Linked DNA regions of Homo sapiens: regions 2 and 3 are each linked to region 1. Evidence: promoter capture Hi-C in 16 types of primary human blood cells and fetal thymus (Javierre and others, 2016). All regions are on one chromosome and are shown on one strand. Each heading gives the region's core, a stretch centred on a gene start or on the middle of the fragment in contact. The rest is flanking DNA. Distances are from core to core; before and after follow the strand shown.

Region 1 (3,789 bases), core at 929-3,428:
GTGGGGTCTGGGAAGTGGGGAATTAAAAGACACTTGTAAAGTGCCTGCCAATAATTGTATCCCAGAGCCACCCCTTCCTCTGCCCTAATTCTCTCCTTTCCCTTTGTGCCCATGAAGCACTATCCCAACCCCAATGAACACAGCTTTGGCCACCTCCCCTGAATCTCCCAACGGGTCAGAAAGCCTTCTGGGCCTCCCTCCACCTCTGCCTCCGCCACCAGGGGAGGGTAAGGCTGGGGTGGAGGAGGTGGAGGTGTAGTGTGACCCCAGAGTCTCAGCTGTCATGCTGGGGCACAGAGGGAGGGGTATGGAGACAATCCATGAATTCCTGAGATGCTTGGCTGGTATTAGATTTTATGGGCAGCTGCTTATTCTTAGGGCTCTGCTTCTCCAAAGACACTGAGGAAGTCCAAAGGAAACACCAGCTGGCGAAGAGCCACCTCCAGGCCCATCTGTCCATCATCAGCCTCCAGGAATGCCAGTGTCCAGAGGGCACCAGGTCTGCGTCTGTCTCCCTGGGATGTGCCTTGTCCTTGGTGGGCATTTGGCAGTGATCATGCCTCCCTGTCTCCCTCAGAGATCCAACTGTCCCCATTGTGGGGCCCTACCTTCCAAGGCCGGTTTACACCTCCTGCCAAGCTCCGGGGCCTGCCCCCAGCCTGCCTCACTGACAAATGCCAGACCAAGGGGTCCCACGTCAGGCAAGAGGCCTCAGCCTGTGCTCTGACACCCCTCAGACGGGGGCCCTTGCCAGGCTCTGTGGAAGACAAGCGAGGACTGATAAGTCAGGATGAAGATAGCAGCCACTGGAAGGCTTGGAGAGCCAGGATTCCATCTCCTCTACAAGTAGCAAGCAAGGAGATAATGAGAAAATCCTCCCCCCGAGGGGGGGAGCAAAGAGTCTCTGGTGGTTGCCTCAGAGCTGGGCTTTCCCTTCCTTGAGGCTTTGCAGCGTGGAAGGGACTATCCGCTAGACTATGAGATTGAGTCTGTGTGTGTAAGTGTGTGTAAGTGACTGTGTGTGAGAGTGTGAGTGTGAGAGAGAGAGCGTGTATATGTAGGGGAAAGAACTGATCTCTTTGCACACCCAATGATCACGTCCACAAGTATCTAGTTAGGCTCATGTGCTTCCCCCTGCTCCCCGCCCCCTGACCTTGGACCCCCATTCAAGGGCATCCCTGTCTTCCTTGACTGACGGTTAACACTCCCAAGTGCATGGCGCTGGGCTGCCCCCATCTTGAGTTCTGAACAGCAAAGCCTAATCTCAGAGCTGCTGTGGGACTGTGACTCCCAAACCTGGTGGCAGGTGCTGCCTTCAGCCCCCACCTGAGTCAGGGACCGCCACACGGCCCCCTGCCCCAAGCCTTGGGTTACCCTGTAGATACTGCCCTGGCTTATGTGTTCACTGGCTCCTGTGCCCCAACCCAAAATGCCGCCACCATTGCCTTCCTCCAAGAGGACCCCCAGTATCTACTGCTGCTTCTCAGAGCCAGGAGCTCTGAGCAGGAGCAGTCAAGAGGGGTTGCCGGTCTGCCCTCCTCTGCTCTTGTGCTACACTACAGAGGGATAGGCAAAGGGAGCTAACAGCGTCGCTCAGAGACAAAGAACACAGAAGCAAGATGGTTTCCTTGGCCAGCAGGGAGCTCTGGCCCTGCCTTCTAGGCTCCCTGGGAGTCCTGCGCGTCAGGCACCCTCCTTCTCTTCCGCTGCAGGCATTGCTGACTTTGAGCACTCACCCTGGCTCTCTGATCCCAGGGCCACCCCTTCCCCTGGGTGCGCTCTCCCTCCCACACTCTGCTGGGCATCCTGTGTGAAAACATCATCCCTTAGGCTCTGCCCTGGGGCTCCTAAGGAACCTCACGGAAGATTCTGCTCCTTGCTCACAGCCTCCAAATGGCCAGGAAAAAGTTTCACCTCTCACAACAGTTTTGCAGGAGAGATGCCATTCTGTGGGACAAAATGCTGTGGGAGTATTTTAGGAATGTTCTACCAACAAACCAACTGCACAGGCAAGAAATGGTTTTCTCCAGCTCCAAGACCTCGCTTTCTCCTTAAACAAAAGCCCCAGGTTCTCTGCCTGGGATCAACCTACATCTGAAGTTCTGGGCTGCAGACGCTTACCTTGTTCAGTCCTCGTGGAGCTGGGCTGGCCTGTGCCTCGCCGTAGACTGCAGACTGTGAGGGGCAGAGCCGAGGGGAGGCTATGAAAACTGTGTCCAGCAGCAACTGGCTGGTAAAAATAGAACAGACCCACTGCCCCCTCCTGCTGCCCCTCCTCCCTCCCACCCTTCACACACACACACACACACACACACACACACACACACACACACACCTCACAGGGCAGATGCGTGCTGCAATGCACACAACAGGCACATAGGCGGAAAGCCATGTGAATTTGTGGCTCAGGAGCAGAGGCAAATTCTGTGCACATAGGTGCCACCAACTGAGTGAAACCAGCACCCACCTGGGGAGACTCGAGCTGCAGAAAGGGAAAGAATGAGCAGCCAGACCAGGTGTGGGGACTGAGCAGAGATGGGACTGGGAGGGGGAATGAGGGAGAGCAAAGGGCCACAGTGAAGGCCCAGAGGGGCAAGTAGCAGCTGGGGGAAGAGGACCATTGGGCTAACCCTGCATCTCTTATAAGGCAATATGGAAATGAGGCCCCTGAACCCATGCCCCAAAAGCCCAAGAGGGCTAAAGACTCAGCTTTCAGGGATTTTTCAGTGGCTCTGGTGCACGTGGGATACGAGGGTGCCTGGCTGTGGGGAGTGATGTGAGCAGTGTTGCAGGCTGACCCCAGTGAGTGTTTCCAGGGCTGAGCAGAATGGCAGTGGCAGCAGGGCACACCTTTATGCTCAGGGAGGTCTGAGGGTCTGCAGACACTCTGCATCCCCCTCCAGATGGGTTTCCTGGAATCTAGATTTCCCAGGTTCCAAAGGACACCCGAGTCTCATGCCTGGAACTCAGTGAGACTAATTCACCTCTCCTCTGCCCTAATCTTCATCTCCAGCCAGAAGCCAACAGATCCCAGGGGACTGGAGCCACAGGGGCTGCACCTGTTTACCGGGTATTTTTAGGATGGTTGATGAACACATAATACCCACCCTATAGTCAGAGAAAGACAATGCCTGCTATGTTAATCCTGTGGCTATTATAGTCTGTCATCTCATGGGTTGGGGCAGGACACTGACCCTCTCAGAGGCCAGAGAGAGGCCTCGCAAGCAGGAGGTTAGGGAGCCCCAGCCATGCTCCCCATTTGGAGAAGGAGAGAGTAATGGGCAGGGGTGTCCTAAGGAGACACACCCCAGTGCCCACAGAGGTAAAGGCCCTGCCCTCTCTACAACGACATTCTGCTGCCTAATAGAGGTTGCTCTAATTCTGTTCTGGTCGGGTCAACTTTGAGAAGCCTCTATGTGAGACGGCTGCCAGGGAGAAATGACAGGGTCTGGGGAGGCATAGGGGTTGGGGACATAGGATTCCAAGTGGAGAGGCTGTGATGGATAATGAAGGCAGGCTCCAGCCAAAAGGAGCAGCTAGAGGGGAGAAGGAATTTAGGGGCTTTGCAGATGAGCCTACTGGAGTTTATTGCCTTGGCTTATTATAATTTATACAATAACTTTCCATTTATTTATTTATTTATTTATATACTTTTGGAGACAGAGTCTCACTCTGTCACCCAGGCTGGAGTACAGGGGCTCTGTCACCCAGGCTGGAGTACAGTGGCTCACTGCAACCTCCACCTCCCGGGTTCAAGTGATTCTCCTGCCTCAGCCTCCTGAGTAGCTG
Region 2 (3,789 bases), core at 366-2,865, 550 kb before region 1:
TGGGCTCTGGCAGACTGCTTGTCCCCTGAAAAGCCCACATTCCTACTCATTTTGGTATACTTGTTCCCTTTACTCCCTCCTCCGAGTCTGACCCTTTCTTCTCTTTTCTGCTGCTCTTATTTGACTTTCAGCTCCTTCCTGGGACTGATCTCAAGTGTCATCTCCTCGAAGGCCTTTTCTGATTCAGCCCTCCCGTCAAAAATAATCACTCCCCCTCCACTAAACCCTAAGAGGGCTTGGTTTTTAACATTTACTACAATTTGGCCCCTGCATAAGATTACATAAGATTCTGCTTATGTAACCATCTCTCCTGCCTATGCAACAAACTGCGAAGGCCAAGAATGGCATCTCTTGCAGTGCCTGAAACAGTGCCTGCTTCATGGAGGAGTTCATTGTTAACAAGTCTTAATCGAACAAAATTGATAATCCACCTCAAATTTTCCACACCGGGTTGCCCGGCACATCAGCCACTCATACCTGGGAACACTGGGGACAGACTCAGAGGGCACTGTGACATCAGTTCTACCACAATATCTTGTGGAAGGGATATCTGCTAAGAAGAATTCAGATGTAAGTGGCTGCATGCCTCCTTCAGGAGAAAGAGCAAGCTTTCCCTCACCCATCCTCTCCTCCTTAGGTCCCACTGCCTCCTCAGGGTCAGACTTCATTCCCCCTCGTCTTTATGAATCCTCCCCTTACTCTCAGTTTCTCAGTTCAGAAGGGATCTTGCTGCCTCCAAGCTCCTGACTCATAATTTAGGACAACTAATCTGGTGTTTCATTAGGTGTCATCTTTTGAACTGAGCTTACATCTGTGTCTGGCTTGACAGGTTTTTTAGGATAGGAGAAGACAGGGAAGAGGCAGATGTGAATCCCAGGTTTCACCCCTTTCCAGCAGGATGATCTGACTACACCCCTTCCTCGCTGCCTTAAAACCCTTTCGCGTGGCTTCATGAGGACCTGACTGGGTCAGAGAAGCCACTCATAGGGTGAAGACATGAGCCCCACATCTCAGGACGCTAACAACTGCTTGACTGCCCAGGGCGGGCTCCCCCACCCACCCAGATCTGCTGTGTCCCGGCAGTGGAGTCTTTCCTAGGGAACAGGTGGATTTGGGGTGGGGCGTGCCTTAGGCCCCATACTCATAAAATCCCGGGGCTCTGTCTTCTCACCTCTAAAACAGAGAAGACAGCAGCCGGTGGGTGCAGGTGGGAAGGGGTGAAGTGGAGGCTGAGAAGAGGTTAGGGCTCTCGGGCACCCACCACCTCTTGCAACGCGACCCTGAGACAGTGGGGCAAGTATCCCGATTTCACGAACAAAGAAACTGAGCAACTAATAGAGGAATGGGCCACGCTCCTACTGGGAGGCCGGGCAGGTCTCCCAGCCCTGAAGACTTTTCCTCCCAAGATTTAGATGTGAAGCCCCTTTTGCCTGTCCCTGCCCTTACCCCTCGGGTCAGCCCCAAATCGGAGGCCACCATCTCTCTCACAGAAGCCTGCCCCTCCCACCCCATCCCCTCCTCCCTCCCCTCTTTCCTGCCCACCCATTTGCCTCCGGCTTGGGTGGCAGGAAGGGAGGTGCAGGGCCGGGCGTGAAGAGCAAACCCCCTCCTGCTCAGAGCTGCTGCCGCCTGCGCCCAGGGCTGCACTCCGCGCAGGCCTCATAGCCAGGCCATGGCCCCCACAGAGCCCTGGAGCCCCAGCCCGGGGTCAGCGCCCTGGGACTACTCGGGGTTGGACGGCCTGGAGGAGCTGGAGCTGTGTCCGGCCGGGGACCTGCCCTACGGCTACGTCTACATCCCCGCGCTCTACCTGGCGGCCTTCGCCGTGGGCCTGCTGGGCAACGCCTTTGTGGTGTGGCTGCTGGCCGGGCGGCGGGGCCCGCGGCGGCTGGTGGATACCTTCGTGCTGCACCTGGCGGCAGCTGACCTGGGCTTCGTGCTCACGCTGCCGCTGTGGGCCGCGGCGGCGGCGCTAGGCGGCCGCTGGCCGTTCGGCGATGGCCTCTGCAAGCTCAGCAGCTTCGCGCTGGCGGGCACGCGCTGCGCGGGCGCGCTGCTGCTGGCGGGCATGAGCGTGGACCGCTACCTGGCCGTGGTGAAGCTGCTCGAGGCGAGGCCACTGCGCACCCCGCGCTGCGCGCTGGCCTCGTGCTGCGGCGTCTGGGCCGTGGCGCTGCTGGCCGGCCTGCCCTCCCTGGTCTACCGGGGGTTGCAGCCCCTGCCTGGGGGCCAGGACAGCCAGTGCGGCGAGGAGCCCTCCCACGCCTTCCAGGGCCTCAGCTTGCTGCTGCTGCTGCTGACCTTCGTGCTGCCCCTGGTCGTCACCCTCTTCTGCTACTGCCGCATCTCGCGCCGCCTGCGACGGCCGCCGCACGTGGGTCGGGCCCGGAGGAACTCGCTGCGCATCATCTTCGCCATCGAGAGCACGTTTGTGGGCTCCTGGCTGCCCTTCAGCGCCCTGCGGGCCGTCTTCCACCTGGCGCGTCTGGGGGCGCTGCCGCTGCCGTGCCCCCTGCTGCTGGCGCTGCGCTGGGGCCTCACCATTGCCACCTGCCTGGCCTTCGTCAACAGCTGCGCCAACCCGCTCATCTACCTCCTGCTGGACCGCTCATTCCGAGCCCGGGCGCTGGACGGGGCCTGCGGGCGCACCGGCCGCCTGGCGCGAAGGATCAGCTCAGCCTCCTCGCTCTCCAGGGACGACAGTTCCGTGTTCCGTTGCCGGGCCCAGGCCGCGAACACTGCCTCGGCCTCCTGGTAGCTGCCCCGGGCCGCTGGAGGTGGGCGGCAGCGGAGCATCGAGAGGAGGCCAGAGGTCCCGGAGGGGACTGAGCTCCCCAGACGCGCCTGTTCTGGCGGCAGCAAGCTGCTCGGGCCGGCATCGCATTTCCTCGCGCGCTGCCTGGACTCCCAAGGCCTCCTCCATCGGTTTCCCCGGAACCTCAGAACAATTGAACTCCCCTAAACCAGGCTCCTGTGACTAGCTGTTCCCTCTCAGCCTGCAGGGTACCTGAGCTAATTTTGTCCAGTCCAAGATAGGTGCTATGAGATGTAGCAGACAGCAACTCGGAGACCCGCAGATTCACCAAGTAGACAGAAGGGAAGTGGGTTTCCTTCTCTGTCCCATCGGGAAGAGAACCCACCAGAATATCTAACCCAGACCCCCAAATGCCATTCTGATTTCTGGCTGTGCTTTCTCCCGTCTCCCACAATAGCCGTTGCTTTCAGAGAAATACCTTCTCCAAGTCAGACCCCCTGCCCTTCTCACTCACAAAACCCTTGCATTGAATCTGGTGACACTTCTCCCCCTGTGAAGCGGCAGGACTCACCTGGAAGTTGTTCTGGTCTTTCCCTCTGGACAGAAGGTCCTGAAATCGCTCACCAGGCGTTTTTTGAGGTCTCCATCACTCAGCCAGGAACCTCAAAATCTCTGTGAATTCATCTTTCTCAATAAACACTCTTGCTAGCCCTGTCTTGACAACCGTCTTTGCTTGAGCAGTGGGAGTGAAATGCATATCAGGAGGCGGGTCGTACACTGGGTGAGACAAAACTCAACACAGTAGTTGAGGTTGATCTCAGGATGATGAGGATTTGGGGTGGTGTCTGGGAGCATGAGAGCTGGCTGCACTCTGCAGGTGCAGTAATCCCACAGGAGGAAGCAAGTCATTTATTCTTATTTTTAAGGACATTTCACATTTTGAAAATTACCGAAAGAAAATATATTTATATAAGGGCATCTGCCAGCCAAGTGTCACTTCCAAGAGAAGATGTGTCATTTTGGATTTTCAAATA
Region 3 (3,789 bases), core at 612-3,111, 520 kb after region 1:
TCCTTCTCCCTCTTCTTGGCAAAGGCTTAAACATAGGTGGTGGGGCGGGGGGGGGCGGTAGGGACAGAGACAGAGTTCCAGCTCCTCTTTGCTTCACCCCCTTCCCTCCTCCTCCCTTCTTTCCCATTGCTACACTAAAGGAGTCAGGGCTGTGTCCACCAATATGCTCTGTGACTAGCAGTCAACACAATTTCATACCCAGCCAGTCATTCCGCAGGCATTTTGGATGATAATGTTCCCATTCTCAGTTCCTCTGTGAGAATGTGCATGTCATTTGAAGCTCTGTGCCTCAGTTTCCATAGAAGTAAAACAAAAAGCAAGAATTGAGACTGATCTTTTTCTTGCAAGAATTCACAAGTAATGGATAATGTACAAGAGATGTGGCTGAATAAGAGAACTAGAACAAAGACTTGAACAATTTTCCTATGCAACACTCTTTCCCATGGACAAAGGTATCCCACAAAGTCATACTTCATCGGAGGCTAGTTTGTCCAAAGAAAACTCACATACCAATGCAATAGTGACAAAAAAAAAATTCCTCCATGCCAACTCAGGAAAACAGAAAGCAAGTTGTGCTTAAGCCCATTGTAGGTGTGGGCAGATGCTTCCAAAACCGTCACCCCTTTTCCCTCCTCTATGACTATCTTCAACCCCCAGCAAAGCGGCCTCGCCAGCTGCTAAAGGGTTAATTACCAAAAAGAGGGCATGCTCCCTCCAGAGGCTCCTCTGGAGAGTGCAAAAACAAAACAAAACCAAAAACCAACTAACCACAACAAAAAACATCTTCCCTGGGAATAAATTTGAAGCTTATCAGGTCTTTAAGCCACATTTCCCAGCCCATAGACTCCTGGTCCCTGTCTCCCTTTGCTTTGGGAAACTCATTTACCCCCAAGCCTCCTGAAATGATCCATGTGCCGTGAGATGCCCATAGGGTTGGGGACTTGAAAATGAGTTATTCTCCCACAAAAAATGGCTTAGCTTTGTCTTTTTGGGTGGCTGACAGGAGACATAAAGTATCACTCTCTCTTTTTACCCCTCCTCACAATAGGATGGAATGAGTGTGGAGAAAAACAAAGGTATTGTGGGACCAGGATGGAGTCAACTTGACAATGGACTCTTCAAGGACACCTTCCAGCTCCCATTCTACTAGTAGCTCTATTTGATTTTGTGGGATGTTGTGTTCCTCCAACATATCCGACTTCTGCTTATAAAACAGAAATTAGGAGTAAGAGATTCGCACCGCTAGTTCAGTGGATAATCATCAGTTCTGAAGCATTAAAATCCTTTGCCAACAAGAACGTTTCTTCTAAGGAAGGAAGCATCCTAATCATGAAGCCAGGGTCTCCAGCCCTCCCCTGTCTCCCTCCTCCCCTCCAGGGCTGTGCTCACTCACATCCATGGACATCTCCCTCTGCATAAGTTTCTTGGTCTCCTTTTCACAGAAGTTGAGCATGGCCTCCCGGTTGTACACACCCGTGGACTGTTTCTCCGTCTGGTTTCTCTGCCGCAGCCCCACGGGAACACTCCCGTCTGGGTCCACCACGTCCAGCTCCTTCTCCAGCTCCTCCATCTCCTCGGGAGACAGGGTCTCCAGCAGGCTGTCGATGTCGGGGTCTTCACTCACCTGCCGGCGATATTTGGCTACTCTAGACATCTTGGCAAAATGGGCTGTGGCTGCCAGGGGCTATCAGAGTCCTGGTGGGCAGGGAAGGGAGAGGGGTGAGCTGATCTGGATGCAGCGAGTGGGCTGAGGAGCAAACCTCCTGCTGGTCGAGGACTGCAGCTCCTTGGCCCTTCTGTGCTACAGGTGCTGAAGTGTTCACTGGACGCAGCAGCCTCCCTGAAGCCCAGGGCTAGTGGACCCCGGCTGGTCTAATCAGCGGCCAATAAGACCCGACAACTGCCAGGCCCGGAGAGGAGAAGCCAATCCCCAAGCTGGGGGCGGGCCTACCTCGCTGTCAGAGCTGTTTGAAACTTGAGGACATTCCAGGGAATCTTGGAGCGCTGCGTGACCAAATTTAGTACAGAGCAGTTTAGCCTTTTAAAGACAAGGGGCCACGCAATGAGAAAAAGATACAAAAATGCGTAGGCTGGCAGAAGCAGATCACAGCCACGGAGAGCCAGACAAGCAGGGACGAGGCCATGAGGGCCGGTGAACTCGCCAGCCCGGGGCACGTTCAAGAGCGTATTTTACTACTCCATCACCGGGTGGACGTATCACTGTGGTCAATGTGTGGTTCATGGACTTCCTTCTACAGTATTTGGTAATGTGCTGGGGGGCTCCCAGGTGTATACAGCTCCAGGAAAGTCTAGATTCAAGATGAGGAGCTGTTACTCCTAACCCCCTGCCTACCCATTTTCTTTCTACCCAGGTTCTGCCAAGGAGGACCTGAAGGCTGAGCATCAGAGGCTCCAGGATCCTTTGGCCACTTCTTAAGAGAGAGACAGGAGACAGAAAGACAAACTTAGAGATAGAGATAGCTAGGCAGGAGAGGGAGAGAGAGAGAGAGAGAGAGAGAGAGAGAGAGAGAGAGAGAGAATAAATCCTTACTGTGTACCAAAACTGAAAACTGGCAGGCTGTTTGGGAAAGAGAGAAGGATCTGCAGAAGTCGGGAAACTCTTAAAGGGCTGTCACTTTCCATGAAGTTCCAAGGCTCTTGGGAAGAGGGTTCAAACCTCCCCCTGTTGTCATCTGTTTCTTCCTCTGCCGGGCATCTGTAGACAGACCTCCTTTGGGAGCACAGAGGCAGGTCACCACCCACATATAAATCCAGAGCACGATTTAGTATGTCTTCAGGGAAACAGAATTCTGGGCCGTCGGGAGAGATACGATTGCAACAGGTCTGGCATGTTTCATAGAAGGGCTTTCCACTGCTCATCCATCATGCTGCCCTGCACAAGTCACAGAGACATTCAATCCCCTGCCCCCCTTCCTCCTGCCACAAAATCCCTTCTAGAAGCCCTGGTGTAACCCATCAGGGTAGATGCTTCGATCTTTCCTGGCATCTTTCCATCCTAAGCCAGAGAGAGACAGTCACTTGATCAGCATTTGCTGAGTCCAGGGATCGTCTGGGACTAAAACTTGGCCGTGCCATTTAATGTCCACTAGTCCAACTTTAGGTTAAGGCTGAAGAGGGGAATGGTGTCCACTGGGGGGACTGAAGGGCAGAAGGAAGGCAGGCAGACTTGATAGGAAGAGTGGAAGAAGACTTTAGGGAAACCTGGGGGTTGTCATTTTAAGAGTCAGTAGCCAACTTATTGGTCAAACCGTAGGTATATATTTATTGAGTGATTTATCAAGTGCCTATTATATATCAGGCATTGTTCTAAGAGCAAGAGATATCACTAAAGATACAAAATCAGGCCAGGTGCAGTGGCTCATGTCTGTAATCCCAGCACTTTGGGAGGCCAAGGCAAGAGGATTGCTTGAGTCCAGGAGTTCAAGAACAGGCTGGGCAACATAATGAGACCCCCATCTCTCCAAAAAAAAAAAAAAAACAAAATTAGCCTGATGTGGTGGTGAGCATCTGTTGTCCCAGCTACTCAGGGGGTTGAGGTGGGAGGATTGCTTGAGACCAGAAGGTTGAGGCTGCAGTGAGCTGTGATCACGCTACTGTACTCCAGCCTGGGCAACAGAGTAAGACCCCATCTCAAAAAAGAAAGAAAGAAAGAAAGAAAGAAAGAAAGAAAGAGCGAGCAAGCACAGGGGCTATGGGAAAACACAACAAGAGGAGGCTGAATAGAAGTATGATTTAACAGTGAAGAGCTTGGGCCTTTGAGGCCAATAG

What was found. The method cuts DNA at HindIII sites, captures the fragments that hold promoters and counts their contacts. A CHiCAGO score of 5 or more calls a contact.
Region 2: a contact is called between the fragment with the promoter of GPR25 here and the fragment with the promoter of TNNI1 in region 1, in 4 of 17 cell types (total B cells, M0 macrophages, naive B cells and 1 more). The highest score is 6.1, in total B cells.
Region 3: a contact is called between the fragment with the promoter of LMOD1 here and the fragment with the promoter of TNNI1 in region 1, in 4 of 17 cell types (M1 macrophages, M0 macrophages, naive B cells and 1 more). The highest score is 10.2, in M1 macrophages.

The regions. Positions count from the first base shown.
Region 1 is chr1:201,419,552-201,423,340 of GRCh38, forward strand. TNNI1 (troponin I1, slow skeletal type) reads right to left here and starts at 2,179. Exons shown (of 9, transcript NM_003281.4): 1 at 2,122-2,179. The HindIII fragment of the contact is 15,457 bases long and covers 1-3,789 here.
Region 2 is chr1:200,871,366-200,875,154 of GRCh38, forward strand. GPR25 (G protein-coupled receptor 25) reads left to right here and starts at 1,616. Exons shown (of 1, transcript NM_005298.4): 1 at 1,616-2,813. The coding sequence starts at 1,673. The coding sequence ends at 2,758. RefSeq lists an enhancer at 1,668-2,310. The HindIII fragment of the contact is 5,028 bases long and covers 607-3,789 here.
Region 3 is chr1:201,944,687-201,948,475 of GRCh38, forward strand. It overlaps LMOD1 (leiomodin 1), which reads right to left and starts at 1,862. Exons shown (of 3, transcript NM_012134.3): 1 at 1,394-1,862. The coding sequence starts at 1,654. The HindIII fragment of the contact is 4,460 bases long and covers 805-3,789 here.